3 separate regions of the Homo sapiens genome follow, and all the other regions are linked to region 2. Evidence: promoter capture Hi-C in human tissues and cell types (Jung and others, 2019). All regions are on one chromosome and are shown on one strand. Each heading gives the region's core, a stretch centred on a gene start or on the middle of the fragment in contact. The rest is flanking DNA. Distances are from core to core; before and after follow the strand shown. Region 1 holds the start of ACSBG2 (acyl-CoA synthetase bubblegum family member 2). Region 2 holds the start of SH2D3A (SH2 domain containing 3A). Region 3 holds the start of CAPS (calcyphosine).

Region 1 (3,315 bases), core at 399-2,898, 630 kb before region 2:
GAATGGACATTGGTGGACACTGGCTGTCCTGGCACAGCTGCCCAGGTGCTCTGCAGAGTAGATATTTGTGAAACATTAAGAAGGCCCTGGTGGCCAGGTGCGGTGGCTACACCTGTAATCCCAGCACCATGGAAGGTTGAGGCGGGTGGATCACCTGAGGCCACGAGGTGGAGACCAGCCTGGCCAACATGGTGAAAACCCATCTCTACTAAAAATACAGAAAATTAGTCGGGAGTGGTGGTGCATGCCTGTAACCTCAGCTACTTGGGAGGCTGAGGCAGGAGAATCGCTTGAACCCGGGAGGCAGAGGTTGCAGTGAGCCAAGATCACGCTATTGCACTCCAGTCTGGGCAACAAGAGCCAAACTCCGTCTCTCTCTCTCTCTCACACACACACACAAAAGGCCCTGGAGACAAAGGAACACTCCTTGTCCTTTTCTCCTGGCACAGCACAAGATTCTGTTGCTACATCTTTATTTACTGAGCATCTAGTATGTGCTGCACCTGGCACTGTTTTGTCTTTTTTGTTTTGAGACAAGGTCTTGCTCTGTAGGCCTGGCTGGAGTGCCATGGTACCATCACAGCTCACTGCAGCCTGGAACTCCTGGGCTCAAACAATCCCCCCACCTCAGCCTCCCTACTAGCTGTGGTTACACTTGCGCACCACCACGCCCGGCTAATTTTTTAAATTTTTCTGTAGAGACGGGGTCTTACTACATTGCCCAGGCTGGTTTTGAACTCCTGGCCTCAAGTGATGCTACGGACTTGGCCTCCCAAAGTGCTGGGATTCCAGGCACAAGCCACTGTGCCTGGTAGTGGACATTGTTAGCAGTGACTAAAGCAGAGAACGAGAAGGGGGAGGCCGCTGTAAACACATGAAGACAGGCAGCGTAAGAGAAAGTCACGAGGGCAGGAATAACATCCAGGCATACTTCAGATCCCAGCTCAAGAAACCACTCCCAGGCCAGGCGCGGTGGCTCACGCCTGTCATCTCAGCACTTTGGGAGGCCAAGGCGGGCGGATCACAAGGTCAGGAGTTTGAGACCAGCCTGGCCAACATGGCGAAACCCCGTCTGTACTAAAAATACAAAAGATTAGCCGGGCGTGGTGGCGGGCGCCTGTAATCCCAGCTACTCGGGAGGCTGAGGCAGGAGAATCGCTTGAACCTGGGAGGCAGACGTTGCAGTGAACTGAGATCGCACCATTGCACTCCAGCCTGGGTGACAGAGCAAGACTCCCGTCTCAAAAAACGAAAGAAAAGAAAGAAACCACTCCCAGACTCCCTGCCTGGGCGGGATCCTTTGATCAAGCCCTCAACATGCCTTGGGGCTCTCTTCACAATGGTAAGTTTGCATTTGTTTGTGTGATTCTAGGCCTCCTCTTATTTTCTTGAACAGGCCTCATCTGGCTTTGTTCATCTTTATGTCTCCAGCATCCAGCACAATCCCTGCCATTAGGGTCATGGCTTCATAAAAACGTCACGAATGCAACGCAGAAGTGCATGCATGCATGAATAAATGAATGATGCATGAAAAGAGCAATCTCCCTGTCCTGGAAGCAGCTTCCCCTAGGGGTGGGGGTGGGGTGCGGAGGCAGGGGCAGCCAGTGATGTCACAAGAGGTGGCTGGGATGGAACGTTCTGGAAGGTTGAATGGGGTAGAAGGCCTGTTGTGGAGGGAAACCACCCATCCTCCTGCCTCCCACCACCACCATCATCCTGGCTGGACGGAGAGGGTGACGGGGGCTGGGAAGGGGCAGCTCATGTTCAGGTTTCCAGGAGGGGCTACCTGTTGACTGTCTTTGCAGGAAGAAGAAAACACCTGAGTGACCAGATGTCCCAGCTCCAGGTGCCTTGCCAGATGGCCAGAACCACACCTCTTGAAGAGTGACAGGTGCCAGTGGTATGGGAGAAGGGCATGCGTTTTCTTTTCTTTTTTTTTTGAGACAGGGTCTCACTCTTTTGCCCAGGCTATAGTGCAGTGGCACGATCTCAGCTCACTGCAACCTCTGCCTCCCAGGCTCAAGTGATACTCCCACCTCAACCTCCCAAGTAGCTGAGATTACAGGCGCCTGCCACCATGTCCAGCTAATTTTTTTTTTTTTTTTGAGACAGAGTCTTGCTCTGTTGCCCAGGCGCAATCTCGGCTCACTGCAAGCTTCGCCTCCCAGGTTCACACCATTCTCCTGCCTCAGCCTCCTGAGTAGCTGGGACTACAGGTGCCTGCCACCATGCCCGGCTAATTTTTTGTATTTTTTAGTAGAGATGGGGTTTCACCACATTAGCCAGGATAGTCTCAATCTCCTGACCTCGTGATCCACCCGCCTTGGCCTCCCAAAGTGCTGGGATTACAGGCGTGAGCCGCCATACTCGGCCTAATTTTTATATTTTTAGTAGAGATGGGGTTTCGCCATACCAGCCAGGCTGGTCTTGAACTTCTGACCTCAGGTGATCCACCCGCCTCGACCTCTCAAAGTGCTGGGATTATAGGCACGCGCCACCATGCCCAGCTAATTTTTGTATTTTTAGTAGAGATGGGGTTTCACCATGCCAGCCAGGCTGGTCTCGAACTCCTGGCCTCAAGCGATCCACCCGACTCAGCCTCCCAAAGTGCTGGGATTACAGGTGTGAGTCACCACATCTGAACCCTACATGGCCTTTTAAAATTGTGAAACATATAATGCATATAAAATAACACAAAGCATATCTGTACGATTTAATGAATAACGATAAATATCTGTGTGCCCTTTTCACTTCGTGAAATCGAATATTACTAGTAACTTACAAGTCCTCTGTAGAGAACTCCTGAGCTCAAGTGATCCACCTGCCACGGCCTCCCAAAGTGCTGGGATCACAGGTGTGAGCCTCCGCACCCGGCCGATCGTGTGATTTTTAACGTGCAGTTCCCTGATGACCAAAGCTACTGAGCATCTTGTCCAGGATTTGTAGCCCTTTCCAGGCTCCTTTTTTGTGAACTGCCTGTTTACATTTTTCATCATAAAACACTGGGTTGTTTACATTTGTCTTTTAAATCCAGAGTTCTTTTCATACTCCGGATACTAATTTTATTTGCCCATTTTGCATTGCCATAAAGTAATACCTGAAGATGGGCAATTTATAAAGAAAAGAGGGGCCTGGTGTGGTGGCTCACACCTGCAAATCCCAGCACTTTGGGAGGCCGAGGTGGCGGGGTTGGGGGGGGGGGGGGGGCTTGCTTGAGGCCAGGAGTTCAAGACCGGCCTGGGCAATATAGCGAGGCCCCCAGCTCTACAAAAATAAAAATAAAAATAAATTAGCCAGGCGTAGTGGCATGCTTCT
Region 2 (3,596 bases), core at 122-2,621:
CTGCAGAGAAATTCCTGCCTCCTGAGTCAGCAGGAAGTTCCCAGACCAGCCCTAGGTGGCTTTAGGGGAGGAGCGCTGGGCAGGGAGCCAGCTGCCAGTGCCGCATACCTGAAGCCAGGTGTGTCTTTGCAATGCCTGCGCACTTCCTGTTTGTCACCTGGACCAGGGCTAGCCTCGGTCGCAGAGTTTCCCAACCCCAAGTTCCTGTCTTGTGTCTCCCTTAGTGAGAGTGAAGTTGAGTCAATGGCAAGGTTCTGGTTAGTTTGAGGACACAGGGTGGCCATAGGTCAGCCAAAGGCCAACTAAGCCATCTCCTGCCTCTGAGTCCTTTGGGATCATTTATTCGGGCACGGAAGAGAAGAAACGGGCAGAATCAGGAATCAGACCAAGCATAGAGAGAGGAGAGAGGGGATTATTCATGTTCCAGTTGGATCATAAACATGTGTCCACGTGTGGGGAGGACGTGGAGGGTGGGAACCACCAGCACAGGCAACACAAACACAGATGTAGGCAGGACTCGCTTTTGACGTTGGACGACCATTGCTGGAGCACTTGCTGTGCACCAGGCTCTGTTCTAGGACCTAGAGATACAGTGACTAAGGAGATTAAAGCTCGGCACCACCCTGCCCTCCAGAGCTTGCAGTCGGCTGCGCAAGACAGACTGCAAACGAGCACAAGATGAATGGAGAAGACAGACCATTTCTAAGAGTTATCAATGAAAGTGATAAGCCAGGGAGATGTGATAGAGGAGGCTGGACAGGACAGCCTCTCCTATAAAGTGACATTGGAACTGAGACCTCAGTACAGAAGGAGGCAGTTAGGCAAAGATTTGGAGGAGTCGCCTGGGTGAGGGGTACAGTAAGGGTAAAGGCCTGGAGCTGAGATGGACTTGCTTTTTACATTTTACATCATCAAGGCGGCTGGTGTAGCCGGAATACGATGAGGAAGGAGTAGATAGGAGGGCAATGAGGTTGGAGAGATCAGGAGGAGAGACTAGGCAAAAACTAGTGGACTTTGAATTTTAATCTCTATGACCCAAGGGTTTTAAGTGAAGGAGGGGCCCGATCTGATTCGCCGTTTAAGAGGATCACTCAGGCAAAAATGGAAACAATGGCTTTCTGTGCTGCACAGGAAATACACTTAGAGAGGCACGCCCAGGTGAGCCCGAGCACACCGACACGCGTAACGCACAGCGACCCTCTCATTCGCGAGGCGACCTCTTCTACCCCAGATCCTCCCTGCGAGCCGGTGACCCCACCTGGAAAGAGAGGACTCCCCATCCCAATAATCCTGGTTCTGGATCTGCCCTGGGGCTCCACTCACCTGGGCAGGACCCGCGGGGCTCCCACGAGGCTGGGTCCAGGCGGAAGCTGAGGCTCCGCGGCTCCGGGCTGCTGTCACCCCCGCCCTCCACCTTGCCACCGCCCCAGCCTTCCCAGACCACACCTAGTGGGAACTCAGCCCAGTTACCTGACCACACCTCCTGCAGACCCCGCCCCCTGCGGGCCCCGCCTCAAACTAACTTCCCAGGCCCTTGCTCCGCCCCCTTAAAACCATTTTTTTTGCTACTAGCCACGCCTCCTTCTGCATCGCACCGCTTTCTCCATAGACCCCGCCCACTAGGGGAGCACCACGCATCCTTTCCTGCCAGTGGCCCCTCCCCTTGTATATAGCCACGACCACCGCCGAATGACTACGCCCACCCGCAGCCACCTCCTTCTCAGCCCCGCCCCTTAGGGCAATAGAAGAAATTTCATCCCAACGTTCCCGCCCCTTAGAACCCTGCCCCTCCCTTCCACCCAGGCGGCCCCAAGCACCCATGGCCCTTTGGGACCAGGGCGGGGTGGAGTGGGGTGCCTCTCTCCCCTCCCCGCCAAGGCTCCGGGTCAGGGCAGGGCAACTCCCTCGGGCTCTTACGCCAGGCTGGGGTAGCTGCGGCAGCTGTGACGTAAGGAGGGGTACGCTTCCTCCAGACCGCCCTCCCGGATTTTCCGGAAAGAAGCCCCATTTAGGTGGCGGGTTTTGTGGAGAGACGTCCGGGAAAACGCGACAGCTTCCTTCAGTGACAGCACGCTGGAGCGGGGCGGGACTTTGGTGGAGGTGGAAGGCAAATCATTCAGGTGGTTTCCCAGGTGGGAAGAAGGGTGGGGGGGACTTCCATCGTGATGCCTGGAGACGAACAAGAGAAAAGGTGACAGGGACCTAGTGCAAGAGAGAGGACTCTTTGGCCACGTTTATTGATGAGTTCCTCATATTAACATCAGTCTTGTCTTGTAGAGACAGGGTCTTGCTATATTGCCCAGGCCGGAGTGCAGTGGTGATCATAGCTCACTGTAGCCTCAACCTCCTGGGCTTAAGCTATCCTCCCGCTTCAGCCTTCCAAGCAGCTGAGACTAAAGGTGCACACCACCACACCCAGCTGATTTTATTTTATTTTTTGTAGATGTGGCGTCTTACTATGCTGCCCAGGCTCTGGAACTCCTGGGCTCATGCGAACTTCCTGCCTTGGCCTCCCAGAGCGCTGAGATTACAAGCAAGCATGAACCACTGTGCTTGGCCCCAGTAACCACAGTCTTAAAAGCAGTAGCAGCAGCTAACATTTATTGAGCACTTACTGTACACAAGGGCTGTTCTGTCAACTTGCCTTTATTTTATTTTATTTTATTTTTTGAGATGGAGTTTCACTCTCGTTGCCCAGACTGGAGTGCAGTGGCAGCAGTCTCAGCTCACTGCAACCTCCACCTCCCCGGTTCAAGCGATTCTCCGGCTGTAGACTCCCGAGTAGCTGGGATTACAGGCTAATTTTTGTATTTTTAGTAGAGATGGGGTCTCGGCCAGACTGGTCTCAAACTCCTGACCTCATGTGATCCACCTGCCTCGGCCTCCCAAAGTGCTGGGGTTACAGGCATGAGGCCTCTATTTTAATTTTCAAACAGACCACCCTGTAAGGGTGGTAGGTAGTATTTTCATCACTTCCATTTTCCAGATGGAGAAACTGAGGCACAGGGCAACTAAACCATTTGCCCAAGTTAACCTGGCTTGTAAGTGGTAGAGGCGAAATTCAAACCCGGAGCTCTGGAGCTTTATCCTGTCTGCCTCCTTTTCAATCTTCGCATGCCCACTTTCTCCACGATGCTGCTTTGCGGTGAAAGTTACTCACCCACCATTTTACAGATGAGGAAATTGAGGCCTAGAGGGCCAACGATGCTTGGGGATGAAAAGTTTTGATGCCTGTAGGTTGCAAAGCAGGGAATTTCCAGACTGGGCTCCCCCGACTGGCCCTGGCAAATATGGAAGAGACTCCAGGCTCAAGAGGGGAAGAAAGTTTCTTCCTTATCCCTCACCGGTCTGGTATTGGTACAGTCAGAGGGTAGGGGCATGTTCAGGGAAGGGGTCTAGCGCCTCCTCGTGGTTATAATAATTTAAAAAGAGGGCCCAGCACTTTGGGAGGCCGAGGTGGGCAGATCACCTGAGGTCAGGAGTTCCAGACCAGCCTGACCAACATGGTGAAACCCTGTCTCCACTAAATACAAAATTAGCTGGGTGTGGTGGAATGCACCTGTAATCCCAGCTACTGGGGAGGCTGAGGAAGGAGA
Region 3 (3,489 bases), core at 199-2,698, 850 kb before region 2:
ACTATGTTGCACAGGCGGGTCTCAAACTCCTGGGCTCAAGTGATCTTCCTGCCCTGGCTTCCCAAAGTGTTGGGATTACAGGCATGAGCCACCGCGCTCAGGCAAGGCAACTTCTGACAATATAATTGTGCTGTGAGCGAGGTAAAGCCAGGCTTGGAGAAGGCTCCGATTGATGATCCTTGGGTCGGGGCGAACAGTGGGTCCTCAAACAGGGCCCACGTTTCAAGTCCTGGAAAACCCACCTATCTTAGCGGGCAGGTATATCCGATGTCTCCGTTGAAGGCCTTCAGTGAGGTGGCTTCGTCTCTTGAGGTTTATGTCCAGGATCAGGGCTGCTCTTCCACTCGGGGTCACAACCTCTGGCTCACCACCTTGTCAGGAGCCAGCCCACTAAGTCACGTTTCAGGCCTGAAAACCAACAACAAAAGATCCGTAAAGACAGAAATCCTGGGACTGGCTCCTAACAACGGCCAGTGACAAGCTTTGTGGCAGTGAGCAGAGGTGTCCCTCAGGCTCAGCTCAGTCTCTGTGGGTTGCAGGACCTGCCCTTGGAGGTGGGCCTGGGTGGGAGGTCTTAGGGCCCCAGGACCTGGGCCACCTGGGGCTTTTTTTTTTTTTTTCTTTTTGAGATGGAGTCTTGCTCTGTCGCCCAGACTGGAGTGCAGTGGTGCAATCTTGGCTCACTGCAAGCTCCACCTCCTGGGTTCAAGCGATTCTCCTGCCTCAGCTTCCTAAGTAGCTCGGATTACAGGCGCCCACCATCATGCACGGCTAATTTTTGTATTTTTAGTAGAGGCGGGGTTTCACCATGTTGGTCAGGCTGGTCTCAAACTCCTCACCTTGTGATCTGCCCACCTCGGCCTCCCAAAGTGCTGGGATTACAGGCATGAGCCACCGCGCCCAGCCCACCTGGGGCATTTTTGTTGCTGTACAATAGAAACAAGTTCTCTATATGTTCCCCAGGCTGGTCCAAACTCCTGGGCTCAAGTGATCCTCCCACCTAGACCTCCCAAAGTGCTGGGATTTCAGGCATGAGCCGCAGTGGCCGGTCAGAACCTGGGGCCCTTTTGAACTTTGATTCCTCAGCAATTTTGTCAGCCCTGGCTCGGGCTGAGAAGCCCCTGTGAAGCCAGAGAGGGAAAGGGACCTGTCCAGGGTCACACAGGAATCATGCGTCAAGCCTCCCCAGCCACGGACTTGTCTCCATCCAGGGCATTTCAGCCCCTGCAGGGCAGTGGCCTGCCCCTCCTCCTTGGAGCCAGGAAGGGATGCAGTGCCACAGGGATCTGGCTCTGTCCCAGGCCCTGTGGGGCTGGCAGTTGAGTAAGCAGTCAGGCTGGGCGCACCCATCCCTCCCCCACTCCCCACTGCCCAGCACAGTGCATTCATGCAGCTGGGCCCCACCCCATCTCCAGAGGCACCTTCCACTAGCAACAGTCTCCCCAGGCACAACACAGCTAACACAAGGCCCCGCAGGCAGGACTCTGGGACAGACGCAGGCCAGGTGAGCATCTGAACAAGGGGCAGTCGGCCAGGGTGGGCTTGCGGGAGTCCCCACCTTGACCTCTCTCCCTTCCAGCTGCCCAGAGCCCAGACCAAGCATGGACGCCGTGGATGCCACCATGGAGAAACTCCGGGCACAGTGCCTGTCCCGCGGGGCCTCGGGCATCCAGGGCCTGGCCAGGTGAGCTGTCCCCTCTCACCTTCCTGACCCCGGCCCCTGAGACCACTGTTCCAACCGTGTCCCCTGCCTCCAGGTTTTTCCGCCAACTAGACCGGGACGGGAGCAGATCCCTGGACGCTGATGAGTTCCGGCAGGGTCTGGCCAAACTCGGGCTGGTGCTGGACCAGGCGGAGGCAGAGGGTGTGTGCAGGAAGTGGGACCGCAATGGCAGCGGGACGCTGGATCTGGAGGAGTTCCTTCGGGCGCTGCGGGTGAGCCCCCACCTCACAGTCAAGGCGTGTGCCCTGGGCATGGGGCGACAGAGGATGCTGAGATGCGGAGACGGGGACTCCTCCCTAAGAGCTGCTGTTAAGAGGCGCCTGCTGGGGCATACAGCCCCAGTGCTCTGCACAGCGTCTTGGGGGTTTGGGTGTGCTACCCACCACCCCCAGTCACCACCTCCTGTCCCAGCCCCCCATGTCCCAGGCCCGGGAGGCTGTCATCGCAGCTGCATTTGCCAAGCTGGACCGCAGTGGGGACGGCGTCGTGACGGTGGACGACCTCCGCGGGGTGTACAGTGGCCGTGCCCACCCCAAGGTGCGCAGTGGGGAGTGGACCGAGGACGAGGTGCTGCGCCGCTTCCTGGACAACTTCGACTCCTCTGAGAAGGACGGGCAGGTGGGTGGCTGCGCGGGGGGCCCCCTCCCCAGGCAGTTCCTCGGCCGTGCCCCCTCACGGCCCTCTGTTCCCAGGTCACACTGGCGGAATTCCAGGACTACTACAGCGGCGTGAGTGCCTCCATGAACACGGATGAGGAGTTCGTGGCCATGATGACCAGTGCCTGGCAGCTGTGAGCAGCTCCGGCTCAGCCCTGCTGCCCTGGCCTGTCACTCCCCACCCCTGCCGGAGACCTCCCTTCCCTGGGCCCCTTCTCTCCTGGGCAGCCACACCACAGAGCGGGGAGGGGCAGGTGGGGGAATGGAGGCTGCAGGACTGGCTAGACCAGGTCCCTGCCGGTCCACCAGGCGGAGGTGGGACAAAGGTCCTAACAGGAGTCACTGGCTCAGGACCCCAGGGAGAAACGCTCTCCCCACCCACGCCATGCTGACCAGAGATCTTGCAGCCCCTGTGGATGCCCCCGCCGAGGTCCCCCGATCCCCGCACCCGGACTGCTGCTCCCTGCCCCTCCCTTGCGGGTCCCCCAGGAAGCCAGGTGACCCCAGGTGGGAGGCTGTGTGTGGAGGCCATCCTGGAAGGAAGTTTAGACCTGCCCAGGTGTGGAGCGAGGGGCACAGGGGCATCCTAACCTCAGAAACTGAAATAAAGCCTTTGAAAAAAAAATCTGTAAAACATCAACCCCCAATCAGAAGATGGCAAATGGGGAATAAAAATAGCAGGTAACATGTCCAGCGGGCCCAGTATCTACATTCTGGTGAGCGGCCCGAGGCTGGGAGCTCTGGGCGGGGGCAGACCGGCGGGGCCTTGCAGCAGGGGTGGGGGTAAAGTGCGGGTGGTGGTGGAGAGAACAGGGCTGTGGCTGGACCCCAGCACTGGTGACACGCTGGGTGGGAGCATGAGGCCCCAGGCTGCTGGAGGTCCTCGCCCGGGGAGGTGGAGGCCGTTCCTGGTCAGGGGCTTCCTGAGGCCCCTGGGGCATGCAGAGGCCAGGGTTTTAGTTAAAAGTTTAATGTAGTTCCCAAATACATTTCATATGACAATCTTACATAAATGTTCCAAAACACATGGGCGTTATCTCGTTGTACTCGTCACTAGCTGGCTAAGGCTTAAAGCAGAGACGTGTGACTGGGTCTCTCGGGAGGGCCTCT

What was found. The method cuts DNA at HindIII sites, captures the fragments that hold promoters and counts their contacts. A contact is called where the count stands out against the background at its distance.
Region 1: the fragment with the promoter of ACSBG2 here is called in contact with the fragment with the promoter of SH2D3A in region 2 in 1 of the 25 tissues and cell types used here (lymphoblastoid cells).
Region 3: a contact is called between the fragment with the promoter of CAPS here and the fragment with the promoter of SH2D3A in region 2, in 1 of the 25 tissues and cell types used here (lymphoblastoid cells).

What each region holds. Positions count from the first base shown.
Region 1 is chr19:6,134,019-6,137,333 of GRCh38, forward strand. ACSBG2 (acyl-CoA synthetase bubblegum family member 2) reads left to right here and starts at 1,649. Exons shown (of 15, transcript NM_030924.5): 1 at 1,649-1,891. All of the region lies in intron 3 of LOC105372255 (a long non-coding RNA gene), which reads right to left. RefSeq lists enhancers at 613-1,516, 1,517-2,419. The HindIII fragment of the contact is 13,898 bases long and covers 1-3,257 here.
Region 2 is chr19:6,766,064-6,769,659 of GRCh38, forward strand. SH2D3A (SH2 domain containing 3A) reads right to left here and starts at 1,372. Exons shown (of 10, transcript NM_005490.3): 1 at 1,324-1,372. RefSeq lists a silencer at 1,851-1,910. The HindIII fragment of the contact is 38,619 bases long and covers 1-3,596 here.
Region 3 is chr19:5,912,806-5,916,294 of GRCh38, forward strand. CAPS (calcyphosine) reads left to right here and starts at 1,449. Exons shown (of 5, transcript NM_004058.5): 1 at 1,449-1,504; 2 at 1,580-1,684; 3 at 1,758-1,935; 4 at 2,135-2,341; 5 at 2,416-3,406. The coding sequence starts at 1,602. The coding sequence ends at 2,517. It overlaps RANBP3 (RAN binding protein 3), which reads right to left. Exons shown (of 17, transcript NM_007322.3): 17 at 3,334-3,489. The HindIII fragment of the contact is 10,666 bases long and covers 1-3,489 here.